4 separate regions of the Homo sapiens genome follow, and regions 1, 3 and 4 are each linked to region 2. The links are contacts of gene promoters, found by promoter capture Hi-C in human tissues and cell types (Jung and others, 2019). All regions are on one chromosome and are shown on one strand. Each heading gives the region's core, a stretch centred on a gene start or on the middle of the fragment in contact. The rest is flanking DNA. Distances are from core to core; before and after follow the strand shown. Region 1 has its middle 59 kb from the start of SIRLNT. Region 2 holds the start of ZMAT4 (zinc finger matrin-type 4). Region 3 has its middle 39 kb from the start of SIRLNT. Region 4 has its middle 72 kb from the start of LINC02866.

Evidence for each region. Contacts are between HindIII fragments. The study calls those that stand out against the background at their distance.
Region 1: a fragment that was not itself captured here is called in contact with the fragment with the promoter of ZMAT4 in region 2 in 5 of the 25 tissues and cell types used here (IMR-90 fibroblasts, bladder, dorsolateral prefrontal cortex and 2 more).
Region 3: a contact is called between a fragment that was not itself captured here and the fragment with the promoter of ZMAT4 in region 2, in 3 of the 25 tissues and cell types used here (IMR-90 fibroblasts, bladder and mesenchymal stem cells).
Region 4: a contact is called between a fragment that was not itself captured here and the fragment with the promoter of ZMAT4 in region 2, in 2 of the 25 tissues and cell types used here (dorsolateral prefrontal cortex and mesenchymal stem cells).

The regions. Positions count from the first base shown.
Region 1 is chr8:40,283,263-40,286,435 of GRCh38, forward strand. No RefSeq gene overlaps it. Among named protein-coding and RNA genes, the nearest start is that of SIRLNT, 59 kb to the right of the region's middle. The HindIII fragment of the contact is 7,039 bases long and covers 1-3,173 here.
Region 2 is chr8:40,895,957-40,899,306 of GRCh38, forward strand. ZMAT4 (zinc finger matrin-type 4) reads right to left here and starts at 1,870. Exons shown (of 7, transcript NM_024645.3): 1 at 1,727-1,870. The HindIII fragment of the contact is 9,161 bases long and covers 1-3,350 here.
Region 3 is chr8:40,302,457-40,305,855 of GRCh38, forward strand. No RefSeq gene overlaps it. Among named protein-coding and RNA genes, the nearest start is that of SIRLNT, 39 kb to the right of the region's middle. The HindIII fragment of the contact is 6,520 bases long and covers 1-3,399 here.
Region 4 is chr8:40,030,232-40,033,582 of GRCh38, forward strand. No RefSeq gene overlaps it. Among named protein-coding and RNA genes, the nearest start is that of LINC02866, 72 kb to the right of the region's middle. The HindIII fragment of the contact is 6,298 bases long and covers 1-3,351 here.

The sequences.
Region 1 (3,173 bases), core at 53-2,552, 610 kb before region 2:
AAAGTAGAACACTGACTTAAGAAGCCAGCTGGGTGTCTGAATAATGCCACACAGCACATACTTGACAGAGTTACCTCCATTTTGTGTTAATCATTTCTAAGGAAAAAAAAAATAGGCTTAATTTCATTGGAGCAAACTGATAGAATAAAGTAACAGGTTTTTTTTTTTTTTTGACAGTGGTTATTCATAACCTCACTTTCCCTTCTATAAACCCCAATTTCAATACCTTCCTCTGTTTGTCAGCAAAGTGTTTTTCAATATTGCAACAGGATATTATGCAAATATAAATCACACTGGATTGGACTATTTCCTTAGCAGCAAAAGCAATGTTCTTGCTGGGATGATAAGTGTAAATGTCTCTAATTATCCTTTACTACACAGCAGTCTGAGGAAAAAATCAGGCTACAAATAGAAAAATGAGCTAGACTGTATATGTTGAAAAATAGATTGTTAATTTAATTCATAAAGAACAAAACAGTTAATTACTTTATAGGACAAACTTTCTTGGTCTTTTCTGATTTCAGATGTATATGTATGTGATATAATTATCTGTATCTTTCACATAGCTTACAGATTCCAACAAAATCATGATTCTTGCATAATTAAGAAACAATGCTGAGATAGAAAAGTCAGCCAGACACGGTGGCTCATGCCTATAATCCCAGTACTTTGGGAGGCCATGGCGGGTGGATCACCTGAAAGACTAGCCTGGCCAACATGGCGAAACCCTTTCTCTACTAAAAATACAAAAAATCAGCTGGGCGTGGTGGTGCATGCCTGTAGTCCCAGCTACTCAGGAGGCTGAGGCAGAAAAATTGCTTGAACCCGGGAAGCAGAGGTTGCAGTGAACCAAGATCATGCCACTGCACTCCAGCCTTGGAGACAAAGTGAGACTCAGTCTCAAAAAAAAAAAAAATAATAAATAAATAAAAAATAAGAAAAAGTCGTAAGTCAATACCATAGATGAGGCGCTGAGATGAACACCAATGCAGAATGACTGTAAATGTCATCTGTTTATTCTGCTTCTTTCTATTTTTAAATAAAAAGATGGAAGGTAAGATGTAATGCTTAGTTTCAAAATTTTAAAGAGATAATTGAAATGTACCTATTAGGTCCTTATATCTTCATGGATCTGTCAGTTTAAGGAAATGTTTTGGCAGTCAAGGCAAAATAAGGGATGCAGAAAACTATATGATGTGCTCATGTGTATTGTCCACTTCCACTGCAGTACGTATTTTGTTCTTTTTTCTAAGTACGAATAAGGAGATTTTGCTGACTTTTCAGAAGTAGCCAAAAACGTTTCCTTGTTCCTAAAATCATTAACAACAATAGCTAACATAGATCAAGTGCTTACTATATGCCAAGCTAACCATGTGTAGGAGGGACTTACTATTATTATACCAATTTTAGAAATTTAAACAACAAACAAAGAAACCCTCAGACTTCACTTAACTTGATTGTTCAGGGATTCACAGCTGGTAAATGGAAAAACCAGCTTTGAAGCTCCTGGTGCCTGAACAAAGCCCATGTGCTCTACCAAGTCCTCTCTACTAGGAAGGACTTCATATGCATCTATAGGAAGCTCTGTGTCCACATTTTATGCTGACACAGATCCTGAGACTGGTATAAGATTGGGATATTCTTTTCGTTTGTGAGCAGATTTATAATGTGTGTATTTTTCAAAAAAAGTCTTAACATTATCCCCAACTATCTCATATTAAATTATGGTGTCTCACACATGAGATAAATTTGTAACAGATTTCTCACTTATGCATAATTAACCAGCCTTTCACAAAATATTTATAGGTAGTTTAGTATAGAAAGAAAGACTTTAGGATCATTACCATCAGTAACTTAGATGGCTGTAGACAACCATTTGTCATTGACACCTAATACATCCTATCCTATAGATCATGAAATGTCCTACTTATTTTCTATCTAATCTCACTTGGTAACTGCACTGGTTCTTCCCACAACTTACTCTCTTACATGCACTGTTGCTTCTTATAGATTTATTTATAGGCACATAACATCCTTTCAGTCATTTCAGTTAAGTAGTCTCTATAAAAAATAAGTTGTGCTGAATTGCTTCAATAAACCTTAGCTACCTTGTGGTAGAGAGACCTTTTGGCTTCATAAGTTGGTCAAATTAATGACTTTAAAAAATCATATGAGTATGTGCTACATTCTAAGATTCTCTATAGTCTAAATTCTTTCTAGGATGATCGGAAGAAATCCAAGGTAGAATTGTACATCTGCAGGTAAGATTTGAGGTTTAGTCTGTAAATTATTTAATTTGTACCTCAGTGTTTTTGTTTTTTAACTCTTACTCTAAACAGTGTCTGTTTATTTGTTTTGGTTTTTTTCCCTTTTTAAAAAAATTTCTGGTTAAACCTGGAGTAAAATAAACATCCAAACAAACATCAGAGGTAGTGTGGGAGAGAAAAAAGTATAATAAATGCATTTAGTCTAATAGAAAGAAGAAAGTCAGACACAAAATAAGAAACGACTGAGCAAGGTTACATTGTATAGTTCCCTTTCTCCAATATGTAGCCACTAGCCAGATGTGGCTACTGAGCATTTGAATTATGGGTAATTTATTTATTTATTTTTAAATTTTATTTTTTGAGTTGAAGTCTTTCTCTGTCGCCCATGCTGGAGTGCAGTGGTGTGAACTTACTTCACTGAAACACCTGCCTCCCGGGTTCAAGTGATTCTCCTGCCTCAGCCTCCTGAGTAGCTGGGACTACAGGCGTGCGCCACTTTGCCTGGCTTATTTTTTGTATGTTTAGTAGAGACTGGGTTTCACCATGTTGGCCAGGCTGGTCTTGAACTCCCAACCTCAGGTGATCTGCCTGCCTCGACCTCCCAAAAAGCTCGGATTACTGGTGTGAGCCACCACGCCTGGCCGAATTATGGGTAATTTAAATTACTATGACATTGGGTTTTGAAGATTTATTATAGAAGAAAAAATGTTAATTATCTCATTAACAAATAACAGTAATTATTTACATTGATTTCACATCGAAAATATTTTGGATAATTTTGTTGAACATTTTTGAAGACTTCTTAAATATAAAACATTATAGCACATAGATGGCCAACATAATATTTCTGTTGAATGATGCTGATGTAAAGCAAGAGAAAAGAGATTTTTCAACCTTCATGATCAA
Region 2 (3,350 bases), core at 620-3,119:
TCCAGGCCCCCCAAACACAAAAAGATTATAATTGGCAGGGCTGCAAAATTGTTTTGTTTACTGTCAGATAGGAAGTACAGAAGAGAACGCTGATGGTATTTTGACACCCCCCCCAAAAAAAAAGTGGGCAGGCATTTTTTTAACCATTGTGAATAGAGTTTCAATAATCACAGTTCCCACCCAAAATAGCTGCCTACAGGAGGTGGAGGAGAATCTGTTGTGGTGGTTAAAGAAAATAAGAATTAAAAAGTGGAAGGGATTTGTGGAGCTGGAGAATCAAGACTGTCATCTGCATCTCCGTGGAAGGGTGCCCTGAGGAAGAGGTGTCACTGGAGAATCCCTCCCAGAACATGCAGTCTTGTCAGGACTGGGAATCGAACTCCCCAGCTGCGGGTTTAACGGAAATCAGAGGGATGAAAATCATCTAAACTCTTCAATGCCCCTAGGACTTGGAAGATCACCCCCAGACTATCAGCTTCAGAGTATCCCGCAGGTAGGCAGCGCAACTGGTGAAGTGCGGTGGGCACACAAGCAGAAGCTGCCTTCGCAGAAGAGGAAGAAAGTTCGAGACCAAGCACATCGCCTGCTTCCCCATGGGTCCCTGCTTCCTAGTGACTCACCTACCTAATATCTCCCTTTAGCAGAAGCCAAAGGCGGAGGAGGCAGGGGGAGAAAGGAGTTTCCCAAGGGTCTCAGAGCAAGAGAGGCCCCTGAGGTCTCGCGATTTAGAATGCTCAAGGGTGCTTCTGGGCTGAACCAGCTGCCTGCCGGGGTGAGCTGTTTTACTTCAAGAGCAGTTAGCAGAAGCAGTGTGGATGGTGACTTCAGCACCACCTCTGCCACAAATGCACCTGTGCACCAAAACAACCTGCGCACCTACACGGAGCCACCCCCTCCACCAGCCTCCACCTCCCAGAGCTGCGGGGATGCTCCGGGCCAGGCACCCCTTCTGGGGACAAGGGTGTAAGCTTCACATGGTACCAAACCGAACTCTCTATCCCGTTTTTTGGCTTTTTCTTTTTTTTTTTTTTTCAGGATACCCCAAGCCTGGAAAGTCTTCCAGAGTTTTCGGGAGCTAATTAATTATGTGATTTCCTCTCCTCTGAGAACTGTTTTGCTGGCGTGTCACCAAGTTGTCACGTAGGTGCCCACCAGGTCAAACAGAATAGACCATCCTCACCCACCCACCCCGGGGAATGTCTCCTTCCACCAAATAAAATGAACTGAGACAGGCAGGAAGGAGGCAGAAGTTTGAGGAAGGACTCCAGTTGAAGGTCACAATAGTTTGGGGAAGGCAGATCAAGGTAATACGAAGGGGACAGACCCTATAGCGGAAAACACAAACAACCAATCACGTTTCTCTCGGAACCAGCCTATCCATGATGGGTGCACCAGGAAACAGCACACCCTGGGATCCAACTTCTTTCACCCAGCACACCCGAATCTCCACCCCAGCCCTGCAGACACCCTAGCCTGAGACCAGACCTATTTAGACAGACCTGAGCGCAGCTAATTAGGAGTAGTAAACAAGCCCATTTCTTGCCAGCGCAGAAGTTTCCCAAATTGTCCGCTTGTTTTCCTCCCAACAAAAGACAGTGATTTCCCACCTTTATCACATTCCCTCCCAGAAACTTTTCTTTCTGCAATCCCTCCACCTAGGCTAAACTGCAAAGCCACTGGCAATGGAGACGCAGGCGCTGCACCCCCGGGACGCAGGCAGAGGTACCTTTTCCGCGAGGCAGAGGGGCCGCCGGTGCCCAGAGGCCAGCTGCCCTGCCGAGCAGTAGAGCGAAGCTGTGGGCTGGAGCACGCTGAGGATTACACGTTCCTGTCTCTGCGACCAGACCTTTCGGCAGCTCGGACCAACTGTGCTAGCGATGCACTTAGCAATTATCTGCTGGCTCCGACGCCCCGCCCTCTGCTCTTGCGATTGGCTCTCCAGTCCCGGGCAGGACTGCATTGGTTTCAGCCGACCTCACTCATTGCTTTGGCTCCTACTATTATCTAAGCCATCAAAGGAAATAATTCCATGTTTCATTGACAACCTGTAAGGCTCTCCTCCAGCCCAATGTGGGGGCAGGACCGGGAGGCCAGTGGAGAGAGGGGAGAGGAGTAGGAAAATGTGGGGGAGCGGGGTGGGGGAAGGAGGTGGAGGGGAGAGGAAAAGAAGGAGAAACTGTGGGGGGGTAGGAGGGTAGGAGGGAGAGAGAGAGAGAGATGGAGCTATCAAGCAATCAGATTCTTGCTCTAGCATTTTAACTTCCACAAAACAGAGCCCATAGCAACAATTTTCTGGCTTTATTTTCCCCCTAACTGGTAAATGTTGCTGAGGGCAGAGAGAATAATAACTATGGGGTGTCTGCCGGCATGAGACAGACTCTAGAAAGCCGAGCAAGGTTGAGGGCTGAAGGGATGGAGTAATGCTTTTCACAGGGCCACCCTGGAGGACATGTGAAGGACATGGCAGATTGCTTGGGGAGCATAGTAGGTGCATACCTGGAGTTTATCTATCAGTACTTTATCTCACAGTCCCCCTCATCCCCCAACCTGAGGAGACAATTTTCCTTTGCACCCTGTCCAAAGAGTCTCAGAAGAGCTATTCTTAAAATCCATAAAACTCTGGAGTTTCTCACTGTTCTCACTGGGAGGTCCAGAAAGCCGAGCATTCTAGAGTGAATGATTCTGCTGGGACCCTCACTTTGGTTTATTCTGACATGGCTTAAATTAATCGCTTAGACTTTCATCAACAACCTACGCACGTGAAGAGAGAACATACCCATCAAAGGGTGGGGACAGCTTAAACACTTTTCCTTGTTCACCAAGAAATCATAAAGTCTCACCCTAGTTAAAATGGCTTTTATCCAAAAGACAGGCAATAACAAATGCTGGCAAGGATGTGAAGAAAAGAGAATGAACCCTCCTACATTGCTGGTGAGAATGTGAATTAATGCAGCCACTATGGAGAACAGTATTGGGGTTTGTCAGAAAACTAAATATAGAGCTACCATCTGATCCAGCAATCCCACTGCTAGGTATATACCCCCAAAAAAGAAATCAGTATCTTGAAGAGATTCCTGCACTGCCATGTTTATTGCAGCTCTGTTCACAATAGACAAGATCTGGAAGCAATGTAAGTGTCCATCAACAGATAAATTAGATGAAGAAAATGTGGTACATATGCGTAGTGGAGTACTATTCAGCCATAAAAAGGAATGAGATCCTGTCATTTACAACACCATGGATGGAACTGGAGGACATTCTGTTAAATGAAATAAAACAGGCATGGAAAGACAAACTTCACATGTTTTCATTCATTTGTGAGAGCTAAAAATTAAAACAATTGAACTCAT
Region 3 (3,399 bases), core at 319-2,818, 590 kb before region 2:
CTCTTCTTCAAAATCCATGTAACCATATGTCAGATGAATTTTGACAGAACCTAGATGACCAAGAGTTCAATATTACCCCTAAGGAATGCCTGGGTGTGTTTAGTATGTAGCATGGAAGCAGGGGCAGGGGCAGCTCTGGGCTCTCTGGTTAGAGCTGTGGTCTCTGACCTGAATAGGTCACTAAGTCCTTTGAGGCTTAACAGAACTAGGGAAATTCTCTCTAGAAAATGTGCAATTACACAATCACAGATTTTTTTGTTTCATGCAATTTTAGGAAATTGTAGAGCCAAGACTGAAGGTCTTAGGTACAGAATTAGCTGCAGTGGGGCCTACAAACAGACTGAAATTCTTCTCAAGGCACTGCTCAAAAATAATAGGTAAGACCAGAGATAACTCTTGGGACAGCAGAAAGGGTGACCCTTAGGCCCAATGCTTTGGGTGTCAAGATGCAATGACTAGAGATATTCTCGAACTGTGGGTCTCAAATGTTTGGGTTTTAGGACTTCTTTACACTCTTTAAAATTACTGAGAACCCCAAAAAGGTTTTGTTGATATGGGTTATATCCATCAATATTTACCATATTAGAAATTAAAGCTGAAAAAAAATTTAAATGTTTACTTATTTAACATAATAGTAAATTCATGTTAACATAAATAAATAACATGTCTTAATGAAAAAATAACTTTTTCAAAAATGTTGAGAAAGTGGCATTGTCTTACATGTGTACAAATCTTTTTAATGTCTATGTTAATAGAAGACAGTTGGATGCTTATATGTGCTTCTGCATTCAATCTGTTGTGTTATGTTGTTTTGATTGAAGAAAATCCAGCCTCACAGTGACATGTAGTCAGAAAAAGGAGGGGTATATTAGCAATATTTTCAGATAATTTAGAATATTCCTCTTTGATACTACCCTCAAAATGTGACAAATGGTAGTTTCTTAAAAGTAAGTTACCAGTGGTTAATGACAGTGCAGTGTGAAAGAATTTAAATGCACTTTTTTCTTCACTCCATTATATTAAAATACATTGCTCATCTTGGACTTTCAATGCTTATTTTACCCAGAAATAGTTTTGACCTCTCAGACCTTCTGAAAAAGTCCCTGAGACTGGAGGCCTACAGAGATACAATCCCACAGCAAGCACTCTTTCCCTTCAGCATATGCACGCAGCAAGTTCTACTTCTGTGATGAATACGCAGAAAGGACAGAGCGATTGTCCTCACGGTCTTTAGCCCCACAGCTGTGGCTGCGCAAGTCCTAGAGGGAATGGGACAGGGTCAGAGACATGGTTTGGGGTGAAGAAGAGAGAGAGGGAAAAGAAAACGAGAAAGAAGTCATATTTAAGGATCAACCATACCAGAAGGGACTCTGCCTTGAATGTGTATGTTGGTGTGTTTTCCTGGGGATGAAGGTGCAGGTGTCATGACAAGTGGGACACAGTTTTGAGAGAGAAGCACTAACAGCAGAGTGTGCCTAATGCCAATCTGGGTGGGAAATGCTACACAGAGTTAAAAGAAATTCTTACAACTATTTTATCTGTCCCAACTCTCAGTTATTTGCAAGGCAATGGGATAATTATTAGAACAATAACACTACTATACTACCTAGTTAAAAGTTAAGCAAAGCTGTTCCAACCAGATTTAGATTTTTTCTGCCATGAAAATTCCTTTTGTTCTTAAACATTTGAAAAAAATACTTGGGTTGATAGTCTCTTTTGAAGACAGGGCAATCCCTAATTTCAACAAATTAATTCAGCACTGGCATTTTCTCTTTCCTAGATGTAGTTGCAATACTGGATTTTCAAATCTGGTCTTATAGAATCTGGAAGGTTTTCATCCCATTACACTTAGTAACAATAACAAATCTCTGAAGAGATAATAGGAAGCTTGAGCCCTTCTTGTCAGATTATTTTTTAAAAGATTCCTTTAGGAGAGTCTTACCCATCAGTCACAGAAGACAGGGTGGTGACTGAGCTAATCAGAAACCAGGTATTATGTGGATTGAGAACGCCTGATTCAATGTTCCTGCTCCAGACCCACTTCTGTGCTTCTGCATCATTTTATTCCAATAAATTAACCCCTCTCAACATCAACACAGATCAGGCCTGGCCAGGAAGTCCCTGGATTTTTAGAGCTGAGATCCCTAGTCTTGAAGTGGCCTTGTTACTTGTTTTTTTTTTTTAATTCTTTTAACATGAAAAAAAATTTTTATAGAGACAGGGGTCTTACTATGTTGCCCAGGCTGGTCTTGCACTCTTGGCATCAAGAGATCCTCCCACTGTGTTGGAATTACAGGTGTATGCCACTGCGCCTGGCCAGGTTACTTCTGTAAAAGAAAAGCTGTTTTCACAATGAGGCTGATGATAATTTTTGCCAAAGGCTCCTGAGGCAGAACTATTTATTAGTATGAAATTCAGGTTAAAGGAAAAACCTATTGTGAGATGGTAACTACAGCCACATCCATAGTGTAAAGAATCTCAGTGTGTGTCGCGTAGGTGGCGTTATGACTTTGCCTACAAATGCCGCACTCTAGCTCCAGGAGACAGGAGGACCCAGGCTGGGTACACTGCAGGCTCAGTTCTGATTGGTGGGAAAGTGGAACACAGTCGGTCTCTTGAGATTTAAGCACCTTACTCACTCAGCTCACCATCCCTTCACTTTTCAAGGAATGGGGTACTAGCTACTGGCACTTTATATACAAATGAACTACTTCAAATTCCTCTCCAGTACCTTCCATATCCCTGTTATGCAACTAATTTCCCCAAAGGAAACATAGCTTGAAGTGTCTGGGGCACCTGAAGAAACAAGACAGAAAAGCACATTCCATGTGAAAGCCAAGCTGGCTCCTGTTCAGCAGCACCCAGGCGCAGGGAAATCTTGTGTTTCTTCCAGATGGCTCCAGGCTCCAGGCTCCAGGGACACATTTTTGGTCTCTGCCTCTGTTGAGTTCTCCTGTATTTTTACTGTTAATGACTCAAGGAGGGGGCAGGGGGTGATGTGTTGGCAAAAAGCATGATGATAAATCCTGCTGAGGCACCTTTTCTGGAAAGAGCGGGCAGCTGTCTTCTGCTTCATATTCCAGGCATGCCTGGTACCTGTGCTTTTCTCGCTTTCCCAGTTCCCTGGTGGGAAGGAGTTGGCGGCATATGCAGGGTTCCAAAACACCTTAATGAGAAGAATGCTATTGCAGGGCAATCATTATTGTGAACATCTGTGAACTGTAGCTTTTAATTGAGCTACAGCTAATGTTTATTGTGTGTAGAAAGAGTAGGGGATTAATGGTGGTTTGATTGTCTTTAGATGGTTTCTTATTATCTTTTCCTTTCTCTTGTGATGTTTTGGCAGAAGTTACAGAGAGGATTCTAAGCCCCAAGACCAGGCATCCAAATTGTCCAGAA
Region 4 (3,351 bases), core at 100-2,599, 870 kb before region 2:
TTCTTTGCTTAGGTTGATTCCTAAGTATTTATTTTTAGGTATGGCTATTGTAAATGGGGTTACTTTTTAAAATTTCTTTTTCACATTGTTCGCTGTTGGCATATAGAAAACAATTGCTAATTCCTTCTTGCTCAGAGGAGGTCAGTCTTTGGTCTATCAGGCCTTCAACTGATTAGAAGAGGCCCACCCACATTATGGAGAGCCATTTGCTTTACTCAAAGTCCATCAGTTTAAACGTTAATCTCCTTTAAGAAAAATGTCCCCACAGAAACATCCTGAACGTTTGACCAAATAGCTGGGCACCGTGACTCAGCCAATTGACCTAAAATTAATCATCACTGGGGTCCGTAAGAAGAACCTGAATTAGGATAAGCTATGGCATCTGACACACTCTCCCTACAGCCTCTCCCAAAGAAAAAGAGTCCTCCTTTCATAATGATGGAGAGGAGGTCAAAAATGGTGAAGAGTGTAGCTGTCCCCTAAGAGACGCCCAGAAGGAAGGCAGCAATGGATTGGATAGAAGCTTCTGAGAGAGAAGTGGGGAACTCCACGCAGACGAACCTTACTTAGTTTACAACTAAAGGCTTTCTAAGCTGGGTAATGCCTGTGGAGCAAAACCATTGCCTCTCATAATAAAAACTAAAACTCAGGCTGAGCGCGGTGGCTCATGCCTGTAATCCCAGCACTTTGGGAGGCTGAGTCGGGTGGATCACGAGGTCCAGAGTTGAAGACCAGCCTGGACAATATGGTAAAACCTCGTTTCTACTAAAAATACAAAAATTAGCCGGGCATGGTGGCAGGCGCCTGTAATCCCAGCTACTCAGGAGGCTGAGGCAGAATTGCTTGAACCCGGGAGGCGGAGGTTGCAGTGAGCTGAGATCATGCCACTGCACTCCAGCCTGGGTGACTGAGCAAGACTCCGTCTCAAAGAAAAAATAAAAAAAGTAAAACTCAATGCTCTGAAGTACGGAATGTAGGGTGACTCTTTACCTAGGAAGAGGTGACCACGCCTTATATTCCTAAAGCTAGTACACAAGACACCTTCACCTTGGCTGCTGCCACCACTCACCACTGCTGAGGACAAGGGGACACTGATTCCCTTTAATGTTATGCCTGAGTCCAGCTAGGATCCCTGTAGTAATTTTTTTTTTTTTTGAGACAGAGTCTTGCTCTGTTGCCCAGGCTGGATTGCAGTGGCACAATCTCAGCTCACTGCAACCTCTGTCTCCCGGGTTCAGGTGATTCTCCTGCCTCAGCCTCCTGAGTAGCTGGGATTACAGGCATGAGCCACCATACCTGGCTAATTTTTGTATTTTTAGTAGAGACGGGTTTCACCATGTTGGCCAGGCTGGTCTCAAACTCCTGAGCTCAAGTGATCTGCCCACCTCAGCCTCTCAAAGTGCTGGGAATACAGGGATGAGCCACCATGCCAGGCTGATTTCTGTAGTAATTCTAAGGAGAATTTAATAAAAACTCGGGGTGACTTTAAAGGCAAGCAAACAAAAAACACTACAGAAATAACAGCTTGATAACATGTAATGCTCACTCTGTGGTGCTCTCAGGCTCAATACTATCCTGATCTCTGGGCTGACTTTAGGTGATGGGACCTGTCAAACTGGAACCCAAATACCTCACAGCTTACAGAGCAGAAAGTCAAGACAGTGAGGCTCATAGACCGAGTTCTTCTTCCCTTGCTGTTACTTTGAAATTCATTCTTTGTTTTTGCATTTTGGTGTCTCCAAAACAGGGTTAAGTGAAACAAAATTAATCAAAAAGGAGAAATGAAGGAGGAAAATGACAGGAAGAGAGAGAGAGGAAGGAAGGAAAGAAAGGAGGAAGGAAGGAAGAAAGGAAGGGAGGGAGGGAGGAAGGGGGGAGGGAAGGAGAGAGGGAAGAGAGAGGGAAAGATGAAAGGAAGAGAAAGAAAAAAGGAAAAAGAAAAAAGAAACAAAGAAAAGAAAAGAAAGGAAGTAAATGTACAAAGAATAAAAAAGAGAAGGAAAGAAATTCTTAAAAACTGTGAGATCCTATTCAATTTAAGATCTGGAATACAAAACTTTTTGTACCTACAAGTCATTCATTGCTTCCACAGCAATGAATTTTACCCACCAAATTTTGTCTTCTGCACAGATGTCCTATTTGCTTTGCTAATGGAAGAAATACTCTTCTTTTTCTTTGTTCACTTAACAGTTAACTTAATAAAGGAGTTGGATATTATTGCTTTCTGAAATGCAATTGCTAGTTAATTTTTGCAGTTTAGCATCTGCTTCACAGTAACATTAAAAAACTGAGTTCTTGAGTGTAAGCATCATCAAAAATAAATGCTTTTGTTTTGCAAAGTAATTTCCTTTGTAAACTCACAAATCTTTTGGACCACATGCTTCTGTGACAGCTGTAGAGGTATCAGACCAGACTCTATTACGCATTTGCCTTTAATTGTCCATAAGCACCTTTCTTCCTTCCTAACAGCACCATTAAGAGATTTTACCTATATTCTGTGTCAGAAATCATTTGCAGTGGGCCATGGGACCCTGCCGTGGACATTCAAAGGTTATATCTCTCTTCACAAAGCAGAGTCCTGGGGCTAACGGGACTTGCCCTTAGAATGACCAGGCTTTTTGAGAACCAACTGAGCACACAGCCATGACATAATATAATCATATAATAAATAATTATGCACATGTTCATGTACTTTATTATTATATATATAATTTATATATATATTATATATATATTTGAGATCGAGTCTTGCTCTGTCTCCCAGACTGGAGTGCGGTCGTGCGATCTCAGCTTACTGCAAGCTCTGCCTCCCAAGTTCACGCCCTTCTCCTGCCTCAGCCTCACGAGTAGCTGGGACTACAGGTGGCCGCCACCACACCCGGCTAATTTTGTTTTTGTATTTTTTGAGATGGAGTCTCATTCTGTTGCCTAGGCTGGAGTGCAGTGGTGAGATTTTGGCTCACTGCAGCCTCCACCTCCTGGGTTCAAGCGATTCTCCCGCCTCCGCCTCCCAAGTATCTGGAATTACAGCCACATGCCACCAAGCCTAGGTAATTTTTGTAATTTAGTAGAGATGCGGGGGGGGGGTTTCACCATGTTGTCCGGGCTGGTCTCAAACTCCTGACCTCAAGTGATTCGCCCACCTCAGCCTCCCAAAGTGCTGGGATTACAGGTGTCACCGCACCCAGCCATATTATTAAAATACAAATATAACTACCTATTTGAAATTATACTCTGCAATACTTAATTTCTATTATATGAATGTTTTTATTTAAAAATAGCAGCCAAGGTGGGAGGATCACTTGAGTTCAAAACCAACTTGAACAACATAGTAAGAACCCATCTCTACAA